Regions from separate parts of the Homo sapiens genome. Here region 2 is linked to region 1. Evidence: promoter capture Hi-C in human tissues and cell types (Jung and others, 2019). All regions are on one chromosome and are shown on one strand. Each heading gives the region's core, a stretch centred on a gene start or on the middle of the fragment in contact. The rest is flanking DNA. Distances are from core to core; before and after follow the strand shown. Region 1 holds the start of FBXO27 (F-box protein 27). Region 2 holds the start of ZNF780B (zinc finger protein 780B).

Evidence for each region. The method cuts DNA at HindIII sites, captures the fragments that hold promoters and counts their contacts. A contact is called where the count stands out against the background at its distance.
Region 2: the fragment with the promoter of ZNF780B here is called in contact with the fragment with the promoter of FBXO27 in region 1 in 1 of the 25 tissues and cell types used here (stomach).

The regions. Positions count from the first base shown.
Region 1 is chr19:39,029,553-39,036,425 of GRCh38, forward strand. It overlaps FBXO27 (F-box protein 27), which reads right to left and starts at 2,997. Exons shown (of 6, transcript NM_178820.5): 1 at 2,951-2,997; 2 at 2,312-2,701; 3 at 1,657-1,768; 4 at 1,477-1,572. The coding sequence starts at 2,675. RefSeq lists enhancers at 1,576-1,685, 2,092-2,884 and silencers at 1,794-1,976, 1,826-2,065, 2,216-2,295, 2,496-2,645, 2,706-2,775. The HindIII fragment of the contact is 13,585 bases long and covers 1,513-6,873 here.
Region 2 is chr19:40,051,205-40,057,691 of GRCh38, forward strand. It overlaps ZNF780B (zinc finger protein 780B), which reads right to left and starts at 5,027. Exons shown (of 5, transcript NM_001005851.3): 1 at 4,985-5,027. RefSeq lists an enhancer at 4,887-5,016. The HindIII fragment of the contact is 5,330 bases long and covers 4,250-6,487 here.

The DNA of each region.
Region 1 (6,873 bases), core at 1,747-4,246:
TAGAGAAGGGGGACACTGAGAAAGAGATTGGGGAACGAGAATCATATGATACTTCCCACACAGATGTAACCTATAGCAGATTAATTGTGTAATAGGGGGCTCATGGCTGTAGTGGACCTGGAATTTGACTCCCATAAAACCATCTGGGTCATATATCCCCTGGAAAGTCTTCATGCACCCCAGTTTCAAGACCATCACTACAGAGGACAAGCTCTGGAGTCAGAATCTGACTCTGAGCCTTATGCCAGGTTCTGCCAAGCCCAGGCTGTGTGACCAGACCAGGGCAAGTCATCTCCCCTTTCTTTTTTTGATGGAGTCTCGCTCTGTTGCCCAGGCTGGAGTGCAGTGGTGCCATCTCAGCTCACTGCAACCTCCACTTCCCGGGTTCAAGTGATTCTCCTGCCTCAGCCTCCTGAGTAGCTGGGACTACAGACACTTACCATGACGCCCAGCTAATTTTTTGTATTTTTAGTAGAGATGGGTTTTGCCATGCTGGCCAGGCTGGTCTCGAACTCCTTAGCTCAAGAGATCTGCCCACCTCGGCCTCCCAGAGTGCTGGGATTACAGGCATGAGCCACCGTGCCCAGACTGCCATCTCCCCTTTCCCAACCTCTCAATTTCCTGAGAAGCTCTGAATGATCTGAGGGCTTGAAATACACCTTCCCACAGGATCAAGGTTCAAAAAAAGGTGCTCACATAAAGTACTTGCTATGTGTTTGCCATATAATAATTGTCATTGCAAGAGCCCTATCTTGTAAACAGGGGAAACAGAGGTATGCTGTGACTTGCCCAAGGCTACAAAGCCACAGAGCTAGGGTTTGAATCTGGGAGGTCTGGCTCCAGAACCTAAGCTCTTGGCTAACTATGCTGTTTTCTCCTCCTAAGGCAAGGAGCATCTCATTCATTCACAGACAAGACTGAGCTGGGCCAAAGGTCTCTGTACTGGATCTCATCTTCTGTCTTCCAATCCACATCCTTTTGGGCATGAGCAGAAAGTGTGTACTCTGCTAATTACTAGAACTGTGAGTGTGTTTTTCACTTCACCTCCCTGAACTTCAGTTTCTTTTCTTTCTTTTTTTTTTCCAGGACTGAGTCTCACTCTGTCGTCCAGGCTGGAGTGTAGTGGTACAACCTCCACCTCCTGGGTTCAAGTGATTCTCCTGCCTCAGCCTCCCAAGTATGTGGGACTACAGGTGTGCACTACCAGGCCCGGCTAATTTTTTTTTTGTATTTTTAGTAGAGACGAGGTTTTGCCATGCTGGTTGGGCTGGTCTCGAACTCCTGACCTCAAGTGATCTGCCTGCCTCGACCCCCCAAAGTGCTGGGATTATAGGTGTGAGCCACCATGGCTGGCCTGAACTTCAGATTTTTTATCTGTAAGGAGGGGTTAGGAGGCCTAAATTAAGTCACCCATAAAAAGGCCATGTCACATGCAGTCAGTGCTTAGCAAGGGGCTATTTTAATCGTCACACTCACCAGTCAGAGACACAAATCTCAATCCTGCCACTATCCAGCAGTTCTGGCCACAGACCCTCCTCCTCTAGGTCCAAGACCTGCTTCTTGCAACACCAGCTGGGAATGCAGGAGACAGGGTAATGAGAACAGGCAGGCCTTTCTCAACAAGGGGCCGGACCTTTGGATAGCAGGGGCATTCACCTGAATGAAGTCACGAAGCACGTCTGAGAAGGGGCCCCAGGCACGGTTGTCCTGTTTTCCTCCACCACCCAGCCGTCCCCACCGTGTTGCACCATCCACTTTCGGAGGCCTTCTGTGAAATAAAAAAGGCTTGTGCCCAAGTTCCAGTCGCCCGCCTGTTGGTTCCTAGTGAGACCCCGCCCCTAGCCCCTCCCACGTGCTCACAGTGCAGCTCACTCACCTGACCCTTCCCACCGAGGCCCCGCCCCCTTCCCCTCCCACCAGCTCAGGGCAAAGCCCCGCTCCTCTGGCCCTTCTCACTGATTTGCAGCAAAGCCCTGCCCCTCCAACCCCTCTCTCGGGCTCCCAGAACTGCCCCACTCCCACCCCTCCCACAGGCAAACGGTGAAGCCCTGCCCAGTCAGCCCTGCACCCTGCGTGCCAATGCTGCCTCGTCCCTCCGACACCTCCCACCGGCTCCCAATGCTGCCCCGCCCCTCCGGCACCTCACACCGGCTCCCAATGCTGCCCCGCCTCTCCGACTCCTCCCACCGGTCCCACTGCGGCCCTGCCCCTGCGGCCCCTAGTACCGGTCCCAGTGCGGCCCCGCCCCTCCGGCCCCGCTACCGCTCCCACTGTGGCCCAGCATCCTGGACTTCCTCTTCCGAGATCCCACCTTGGCCGCAGGGGTTGCGAATAAGGTTGCGTCCGATGGGTCTGCGCGCGCAGAAGCGGCCCAGGGGGCAAGGCCTGGCGTTACGGGCGGGAGACTGGCAGCTGCGGGCGAGGTGCAGCAGCGCGCGGCCGGTGGCGCCGTGGTCGCGGGCCAGGATCAGCAGCCACAGGGCCTGGCCGTCCACCAGGGCTCGCCAGCCCCGGCACACTTGGCGGCAGCGCCCGAGCAGCGTGCGCGGGGGGACGTGGCTCAGCACCACCAGAAGCAGCTCTGGGGGTAGTTGGCTCAGGTCCAGCGCCTCTTCGGGTTCCGGCTCCGGCGCGGGGACCCGGGCGGCCCGGCCCCTGGAGACCGAGGCGCCCATGGTCCCCCCGCCAGGCCCGGCTGTGGCTGCGGGAGAGGAAGGGTCAAGGCGTCAGGGACCAGCAGCCTCCGCGGCGCGCAGCCTCTGCCTGCCCTGATTCTGCCAGCCGCACCCCCGTCTTCACCATCCCTGGGCCCCGTCCCCAAGTCCCCATCCCCCAGCCCGTCCTTGATAGCCCCGATATCCCGGAGACCCCGCGGTCTGTGTGTATGCCCCGAATTGCATGCAATCAGCCCCCCTCGGCGGCCGCACCGACACCGCACCCCAAGTCCTACCCCGGGGCCTGGCGGCGCTCCTCGCCGGGATGCCCTAGCTGTGCCGCAAGCTCCCCACGCCCCTCTGCGTCCTTTTTACTCGCCGGCCCCTCCCCTCTTACTAGCCAGCTTCACCCACCCCTGCATCCTCTTTCTTACTCGCCAGCCCCTCCCGCCTGCTCCCTCCCGCTCTCCAAACCCAACCTGCTTCCCGCGACGGGGCCAGGTGCAGCCAGGAGCCAAGGCCTGCTGCTCACAGCCGTCCCCTCCAGCCGGCCCCTTGAAGTGTCCCTAATTCGTTAGTAGCAATGAGACGTCTGGCTCTGAGCAACCATTGTTATTTTGGTCAGGCTTCTGAGTGGGAGGCCTCGTATCCGTTAACGTGTTAAAAAATTTCCATCACCTTTAAGGTCGGGCGTGGTTATCTTCATTTCACAGGAGAAAACAGGCTCCGGCTGCTAAAAATTAATGCAACCAATAGTAACACCAGCCAACTTTTATGGACGGTTTTACTGCCAGCCAGGGTGGCAACCCCATGAAGTAGGTGCTGTTATGCCCTTTACTTCACAGGTGAAAAAACTGAGACCAGCAGAGGCCAAGTGGCTTGTCTATGATCACCAGCTAGTAGGGATTTGAATCCAGCCAGCCTAGCTCCGGAATTCCTCATTTTAACCTCTAGATCAGCTCTGTCCAATAAAAATACAATTGTGGCTGGGTGCGGTGACTCATGCCCGTAATCCCAGCACTTTGGGAGGCCAAGGCAGGCGGATCGCTTGAGGTCAGAAGTTCGAGACCAGCCTGGCCAACATGGTGAAACCCCGTCTCTACTAAAAATACAAAAATTAGCTGGGCGTGGTAGCACGCGCCTGTAATCCCAGCTAATTTGGAGGCTTAGGCAGGAGAATTGCTTGAATCCGGGAGGGGGAGGTTGCAGTGAGCAGAGATTGCACCACTGCACTCCAGCCTGTGCAAAAGAGTGAGTGAGACTCCGTCTCAAAAAACAAACAGAAAAAAAAAATTGTGAAAGTTGATCATGTGAATTGGATCCTTCTTGTCATATCCAACTAAAACAAAGTTGAGAGGCCGGGGGGAAAACACTTAGGGCAGATACCATTGCTCCAAGAAAGTGATTCTCTGCAAGCCTGGCTGTTAAAACTGCCTGTTGTAACCTGGAAGCAGTCTAACTGGTACTGAAAAAACCTGCCGTGACTCTAAGACTAGTTTTTCCCTCTGCTGTCACTTACCAGTCAGAACTTGCCAGCTCCCCAGAACGTTGCTAGTGTCAATGAACTTTCTTGCAAAACAATACCTAACATTTCTGTTTCTTATAAAAACCTCTAACCTCTTTGTTCTTTGAAAGTTCTGAAGACCGCCTGGTCTGTGTGGATGCCTCGAATGTCAATTCTTGCTTCCCAAATAAAACATTTTATTATTTTTTTGAGACAGAGTCTCGCTCTGTCGCCCAGGCTGGAGGGCAGTGATGCAATCTCGTCTCACTGCAACCTCCGCCTCATGGGTTCAAGCGATTCTCCTGCCTCAGCCTCCCGAGTAGCTGGGATTACAGGCGCATGCCACCATGCCCAGCTAATTTTTGTATTTTTAGTAGAGACGGGGTTTCACCATGTTGGCCAGGATGGTCTCAAACTCCCGACCTCAGGTGATCTGCCCGCCTCAGCCTCCCAAAGTGCTGGGATCGCAGGCATGAGCCACCGCAACAAAACATTTTAAATCGAGAGATTTGTCTCTATATCTCTATATTTTATTTGGCTTCGACATAACGTGAGCTGTATACATAGTTTAAGACATCAACAAACAAAACCAGACATGGATTCTTCCCCACAAAGAACTTACCTTCTAGAGGGAGAGACATGATAAACAGTTGGCATAATGAGCAAATTACGTAGTATCAGGGAAATAATTAAATATAAAACCTCCAGGCCGGGCATGATGGCTCACGCCTGTAATCCCAGAACTTTGGGAGGCTGAGGCAGGCGGATCACTTGAGGTCAGGAGTGTGAGACCAGCCTGGCCAAAATGGCGAAACTCCGTCTCTACTGAAAATACAAAAATTAGCCGGGCATGGTGGCGCATGCCTGTGATCCCAGCTACTCGGGAAGCTGAGGCATGAGAATCACTTCAACAAGGGAGGCAGAGGTTGCAGTGAGCTGAGACCTCACCACTGCACTCCAGCCTAGGCGACAGAGTGAGAAGCTGTCTTAAATAAATAAAATAAATAAAACCTCCTTTTGACCCTCTTAGAATCCTCTCCACAAATGCAGAAAAGAATTAAATGGGTCCTGGCATGGGGGCTCACACCTGTAATCCCAGCACTTTGGGAGGCCGAGGCAGGAGGATCTCTTGAGCCCAGGAGTTTGAGACCAGCGCTGGCAACACAGTGAAACCCCGTCTCTACAAAAAATTTAAAAAGTAGCTGCAAATAGTGGTGTGCACCTGTAGTCTCAGCTACTTGGGAGGCTGAGGTGGGAGGATGGCTTGAGCCTGGGAGGTTGAGGCTGCAGTGAGCTGTGATCATGCCACTGCACTTCAGCCTGGGCTACACATCGAGACCCTGTCTCAAAAAAAAAAAAAAAAAAAAAAGAAAAAGAAAAAGAAAACAAGTAAAAAAAAGAATGAAACGGTTGTATTAGTGTATACACTTCAAACTAGCCTGTAATGTGCTTCTGTCATGATGAACAGTAAACATAATAAGTGTGTGTGTGTTAAAAAGTGATTAGTGCTGTGAAAAATTAGAGCAGAGAAGGGAAATGGGGCATAACGAGGCTGGGTTGGGTGGATAGGAGAGGGAGACCCTGAATTAGGAGAGATGGATGAACTATTATGCTGGTCTAATTTCTTCTCAATATGTATATTTTCATTTTTAAAATTTTGTTTCAACTGGACACGGTGGCTCACACCTGTATCCCAACACTTTGGGAGGCCGAGGCAGGTGGATCACCTGAGGTCAAGTGTTTGAGACCAGCTTCACCAACATGGTAAAACTCCGTCCCTACTAAAAATACAAAAACCTAGGTGCAGTGGCTTATGCCTGTAATCCCAGCACTGTGGGAGGCCGAGGTGGCAGATCACGAGGCCAGGAGTTCGAGACCAGCCTGGCCAATATGGTGAAACCCCAACTCTACTAAAAATACCAAAAAAAAAAAAAAAAAAAATTAGGTGGGCATGGTGGTGCGCACTTGTAGTCCCAGCTACTCAGGAGGCTAAGGCAGAAGAATCACTTGAACCCAGGAGGCACAGGTTGCAGTGAGCTGAGATCCCACCATTGCACTCCAGCCTGGGCGACAAGAGTGAAAATTTGTCTAAAAAAAACTGTTTATATATATATATTTGAGACCAGGTCTCACTCTGTCGTAGCTCACTTTAGCCTCAAACTCCTGGAGTCAAGCCATCCTCCTGCCTTAGCCTCTGGGGTAGCTGGGACTAAAGGAGAGACAAGGTCTTGCTGTTGCCCAGGGTGGTCTCAAACTCCTGAGCTCAAGTGGTCCTCTCGCCTCCACCTCCCCAAGTGCTGGGATTATAGGCATGAGCAACTGTGCCCACTAAAACTAATATATTAGTTTTAATGTAATATATAAGCAGTGGGAATCTTGTTGATAATGAGATATGATGACTCAAGTATTTGACTTTTTTAAAAACTTTTTTCACTTTGTCATCCAGGCTGGAATGCAATGGCTTGATCTCAAACTCCTGACCTCAGGTGATCCTCCCGCCTTGGCCTCCCAAAGTGCTGGGATTACAGGCATGAACCACTGCACCTGGCCTGATTTTTTTTTTAACAGTTAAAAGGTTTAAAAAGTTTGAGTAGGTTGGCCAGGGACTGTGGCTGATGCCTGTAATCCCAGCACTTTTGGAGGCCGAGGCAGGCAGATCACTTGAGGTCAGGAGTTCGAGACCAGCCTGGCCAACGTGGTGAAACCCCATCTCTA
Region 2 (6,487 bases), core at 3,777-6,276, 1.0 Mb after region 1:
ATTATATTCACACACACACACACACACACATATATACACACATATACACATGTGTATGTATCTATATATGTACATATTTAAATGTACATACACATTTTTTTTCTTGCGAGGAAATTGTTCTCCAAATTAGATGAAAGACATCTTTTATTTAGACATTTTCCTTTCAACGTGGGGACAAAAAAAGGAAACTCTACTGAGCTCTTGTTTTTATGTAATAAATTTGTTTCCATTATTTCCCAATTCTTGACCAACACTAAGATGTCTATGTTTTTCTATGTATGTTAGTACAATTTCTAAAAAAAATTGTCTACAAGTCTTCAACTAATTTCTTGTATGCATTAATGATGGTCATATTTCTACATCCGAATTCAAAAATAAAAATAAAACAGAGTTAACAGAGAGTGAGTACTTTTAATCATAAAAAACAAAAAACTGTGCCTGTCATGAGGATCAAAAAGATTAATGTGACTATAACAAATAACATCAGCTAGTTCTGACATCCTTTAGCTGTATCTCACCAATATAATTAGACATTTTCATTATCAAGACTCTTCTCTGAATGAACACAATGCAGATAAGTGGCATCTGGAAACTACATGAGAAAATCTGTGGAATGTACATCACCATGCTTGGTTCCCTTCTTCACCAAATAACTCATTAAAATATCATTTTGGATACAATTCCTACAGAATGCCTTACAAAAACCCTATCTTAGTATATGGGATTCATATACATGTAACATTTTCTTGAGTATCATTGTTCATAGCATGAATACTGCTTAATGGTATATCAAATATTTTTCTTTTCATAATTCTTTATAGACATCATTTTATTAGCTGCATAATACTTTATCACTTGAGTCTAGTATAATTTGCTTAGTGATTTCCATATTACAGGACACTTGATTTATATAAGATCATTTACAGTGTCATTCCAGGTATCACAATCTTTTGATTCTAGACTAAGGTTTTTCACCCTAGGCACTAATGACATATTGTGCTGTATAATCCTTTGTTGGGGCTATAGGGAGGGTTATCCTGTGCACGGTACAATGTTCAGCAGTATCCCTGACCTCTATCCACTAGATCTAAGTAGCACCTCCCCCATGGTGTGACAACCAAAAGTTTTTAAACATCACCCCCGCTGAGAATCAATGTTCTATCTAGATCAATGGATCCAAACCTCATGGGTCACATACAGTTTTGATAGTCTTATGAAATGATATACTATTTCTCCCTCTAAAACCCACATTGATAAATTTCCATAGTACTTCAATACATTATTTCAAGAGCTTTGTGGTCCCCAAGACCATACGTGGAGTTACAAGAACTCAGATTAAGAATTTCAGTCCTACATTCTTGACAAAAATAGAAAAAAAAAAATCCTAAAATGTGCATAGAACCACAAAAGACCCAAATAGCCAAAGCAGTCTGGAGCAAAAAGAACAAAGTTGGAGGCATCAAACTACCTGACTTCAATATATACTACAAAGCTATAGTAACCAAAACAGCATGATACTGACATAAAAACAGACACCTAGACAAACGGAACAGAATAGAGAGCCCCAGAATAAATCCATATGTTTACAACCAACTGATTTTTGAGACAGGTGCCAAGAACATACAATAAGGAAAAGACAGTCTCTTCAATACATACTGTTGTGAAAACTGGGGAGTCATACACAGAAGAATGAAATTAGACCCTTTTCTCAAACCATTATACAAAAATCAACTCTAAATGGATTAAAGATTTAAATGTAAGATCCCAAACTATGAAACAAATAGAAAAAAACGTACGGGGAAAGCTTCATGACATTGATCTGGGCAATAATTTTTTTTTCTAGAAATGACTTCAAAAGCACAGGCAATAAAAGCAAACATAGACAAATGAAATTACATCAAGCTAAAAAAGCTTCTGCACAGCAAAGTGAAGAGACTACCTACAGAATGAGAGAAAATATTTGCAGTCATGTATCTAATAAGGGGTTAATATCCAAAACGTGTGAGGAACTCAACAGCAAGAAAACAACCCAATTAAAAAATGGGCAAAGGACCTGATAAACACATCTCAAAAGACGACATATAAATGGCTACAGTATATGAAAAAATACTCAACATTACTAATCATCAGGGAAATGAAAATTAAACCTACAATAAGATATCACCTCATATGTGTTGGGGTGGCTATTGAAAAGACATAAGTTAACAAATGTTGGTGAGAATGTAGAGAAATGTGAACCATTGCACACTGTTGGTGAGAATGTAAAGTGACACAGACATTATGGAAAACAGCATGGAGGTTCCTCAAAAAATTAGAAATAGAACCACCATATGATCCAGCAATCTACTACTGGATATTTATCCAAAGGAAATGAAATCTGTATACCAAAGAGACACCTGCACACCCATGTTTATTGCAGCACTATTCACAATAGCCAAGATATGGAATCAATCTAACTGTCTATCAATGAATGGATAAAGAAAATGTGGTATATATGCAGGTATATATACACAATGGAAAACTAGCCATAAAAAAAGGGAAATGCTGTCATTCGCAACAACATGGATGAACCTGGAGAAATTCATATTAAGTAAGCCAAGCACAGAAAGGCAGATGATCTCACTCATCAGTGGAATCTGAAAAATGTTCATATAGGCCAGGTGCGGTGGCTCACACTTGTAATCCCAGCACTTTCGAAAGCGGAGGCGAAGGCCGAGGCAGGCGGATCACCTAAGGTCCAGAGTTCGAGACCACCCTGGCCAACATGGCAAAACCCTGTCTCTACTAAAAATACAAAAATAAGCTGGGTGTGGTGGCATGCACCTGTAGTCCCAGCTACTCGGAAGGCTGGGGCAGGAGAATTACTTGAACCCGGGAGGCAGAGGTTGCAGTGAACCGAGATCACGCCACTGCACTCCAGCCTGGGCAACAGAGTAAGACACTCTCTCTCAAAAAAAGAAAACACTTGATATCATAGAATTAGAGAAGAGAATGGTGTTTACAGGTCGGGGGTAATGTGGGTGAGGGAGGGAAGATGGTGTTGGCTGGGGAAATGTTGGTCAAAGGATATAAAATTTCAGGAAGATAAGAGAAATAAGCTCAAGAAATCTATTACACAACAACGTATCTACTATTAATAACTACTATTAATAACTATTCTGTAGTGCTAAGAGAGTGGATATTAAGTGTTCTCACCACAAAAATGATAACTATGTGAGGTAATGCATTGCTAATTAGCTAGATTTAGTCATTCCACAATGTACATATACTATAAAACATCATGTTGCACACGATAAATACATACAATTTTATCTGTCAATTTAAAAAGAACTTCTGTCCTAGATCATTTGAGCAACTCACTCATTTTCTTACTATGCAAGCAGCAATCACAATGAATCACATATTCCCAATGCTCCTGTCCTATAGAAAGTCAAGGGAAATGACCTAAAATGACCACACGAAAACAAAAGCTAAAACATTAAACATTTATTATTATATGCCTAGCACTGCTCTAAGAGGTTTTAGAGTATTAATTCATTCTAATGTTCATTACAAGCCTGAGAAGACCAGAAACGGACAGAACAAACATTCCAACCCAGATACTCTGGATCCACTCCCCTATTCTTAACCGCAACAGCGTACTGCCTCTCACAGTTCACACAAATAGCCCAAAATGCAACCGGAACTGCCGAATCTCACAGAGATCTGGCAAGTATTACAATTATCATCTCATGGACTCTCCCGAAAAATCCTGACTCTGGTTGATACCAATTTCTGTGCAATCACTTTCCGATTCCTGAAAGCCTCACAGACGAATGGAAATCACCCAACCATCTCCATTCTTCCCTACTTGGAAAAGGAGGCCTGTAAAGAGTCAGAAACCTGGCGTGTGATTCCACAAACTAATCTTCTTTTCAAAGCAGAGTCTAAAATAAAGCTTTAATATAAACCTCTGGAGGACTATTTTTATACCAGCTTAGAAGAAGAGAGCGTACAGGAAGGTGTGAACGATTTGCCAAATGGCTCTGTGAATATTAAATGGCAAGGTGGGGAGCGGGCGGGGTGGGGAACGGCTCGCTGGGAGGCGGCACAATGGGAGGGGGCAAGAATCAATTTGCATATTCTCCTGAAATTCACTAAAAATTTACAGGAACCTCTATATTCTAAAATCAAAAACGCATTTCTTGAACAAATACAAAGCACAAACTCACCCTTGACTTAAGTGTGCAACAATAACGCTCTCATCCTCCTCTCGGTCCTTCTTTTGGATAATAATACGACTGGAGAAGGATACGGCAAGCGTGAGACTCCAGGCTTTTCTTGGAGCGCAGACTAAGTTTGAAAGCACCCTCCATGGCCACAACTTCCCTCACTTCGTACGAAATGAGAAGGAAATAAAAGGAGGAGGAATCGGTCTGAGTTCGAAGCTGGTTCCTGGGGACAGATCTCTGAGGGACGCTGGGTTCTCAACATGTAGCTGCCCTCCTGGGGGACCCTCAAGAGGCACTTCCAGCTCTCATATTCCCACCCCGAGTCCAGATCTGCGCCTTCTTGTGCAAAGCTTCATTCTCGGTTCAATATCTAACCTCCCTACTGGGGACATTTTCATTCCTCTGCTGCAGCCTCTGCAGCTTTGAAGGGGAAAGACGGAGGAAGCAGCAGGAGCCTAGTACCACCGGCACAGTGACACTCACACAGCCCCAGCAAAACGCACTGCGTCCACACGCCGTCCCGGTCCTGTGCACAGGGCCTCACGCACACACTCACACAGTCCCCTCCGTCACTCAAGATCGCGCAATCCCCATCCTTTGATGCCCGCGCACACGCACGCCTAAGGATCTGGCAGATTCCGTCTGCGCCCCGGGTTCCTCCTCTGAGCGCCTCGCTCTCGCCCACCCGCACTGCCGGGTCGGTCAGGTTCGAGTCCCAGTCCACGAAGACCTCCCGCAGCCACCGATTTCTTCCTAGGACGTGAAGACCTTACCCAGCTAGGTCGTCAACCCCAGGAGACAGGAAGTGGAACCGCTAATTCCGGTGCGGTGGCCTCTGGGAAATACAGTCCTGAGCAGAAAGAACCTCAGAAGTCTTGGTCTATGGTCTGTTCAGGTTGATCCCAGCATACATTGGGGGCTCCTAAGGGACCCGAGCCTAATGGATTTGTGGGAGTTCCAGACCGTGGGGTGCAGAGGTTGCGGCCACGGGCGAGAATCCCCATCTGAGAGGAGCGTTGCTGTTTTCGGTGCGTCAGGGTAAATTACCTTTTCTCTCTATGCAAAAGAATGCAAATGAGCAGAACTTTTAAAGAAGAATTTAAAGTAAAATTACGTCAAAATGTAGCTGCTTTGACCTCTTCGTCTCAGATCCGAGCATAGGCTTCCCCTTTGTGCTATTTGAAGGGACTTAGGATAAATTTGAAAAGCCTGAACTAAAGAAATGGTTGGAGAGACTCCGTCTCAAAAAAAAAAAAAAAAAGAAAGAAAGAAAGAAAAGGAATCGTTGGTTTTATACTAGAAGAGGAAGTGTGGTTTACATGAGAGATTTCAGAATCAAATATACTTGATTCTTCAAGACAATCTTCCTGTTATCTGGAGAGAAAAACGTGATTCAGGACGGCATGGAAACAGATAAAAGTACACAGAGAATTACTTGCCTTATCTTGAAGGATGAATAATTAACACATTTTCTTAAAACAGTCTAAATAAATGCCAAAGGGGGTTTGTTTTTCGTAGGAAAAGCTTGATTTCACTGTTGTAATCTAGCAACATTGAACTTTCAAAATGATTTTTGTAGTTTCCTATGCTATATAAAGCGGAAACGTGGAATAATGAAGAGCAAAATGTCTTTTCATTCCCGACTGTGACAGAAAACAGATAGCAAGATAACAAACTTAATTGGATCAATGATCACATTAAGTGTAACTGGTCTAACACCTTAACTTAAGAAGGTTGTCAGGTTGGATTTTTTTTTTAAAAGTCAGACCCAAATACGTGCTACCTACAGGTAATACTTAAAATATAAAAGCACTAATAGGTTAAAAGTAAAAGGATGGAAAAATATATAAAATCCTAACACTAGTCAAAAGAAAGCTGGAGTGGCTATATTAAAAACAAAGTGACTTCACCAAAAAGACTATATCAGGGATAAAGAAAGTTACATCATCATAATGATGAAGGATACAGTTCATCCAGTGGAAAGAACAAACCTAAATTATGCTCTTAATACAGCTTCTAAGTATGTGAGTAAAAACCTGTTAGATCAATAAAGTAACAGACAAATCCACAATTATAATCAGATATTTCAACATATCTCTCTTGGTAATTGATAGAACTAATGCAGAAAAGCAACAGGGTATAGATTATCTAAACAACATATCAACCTGCTTGATCTCATTTACACTTCTGGAACACTCTTCTCAAAGACAGTAAAATTCATCTTAGGTGGACAGGAGACACTTTCCAGCGTATACCATATTCTGGGCCATAAAGCA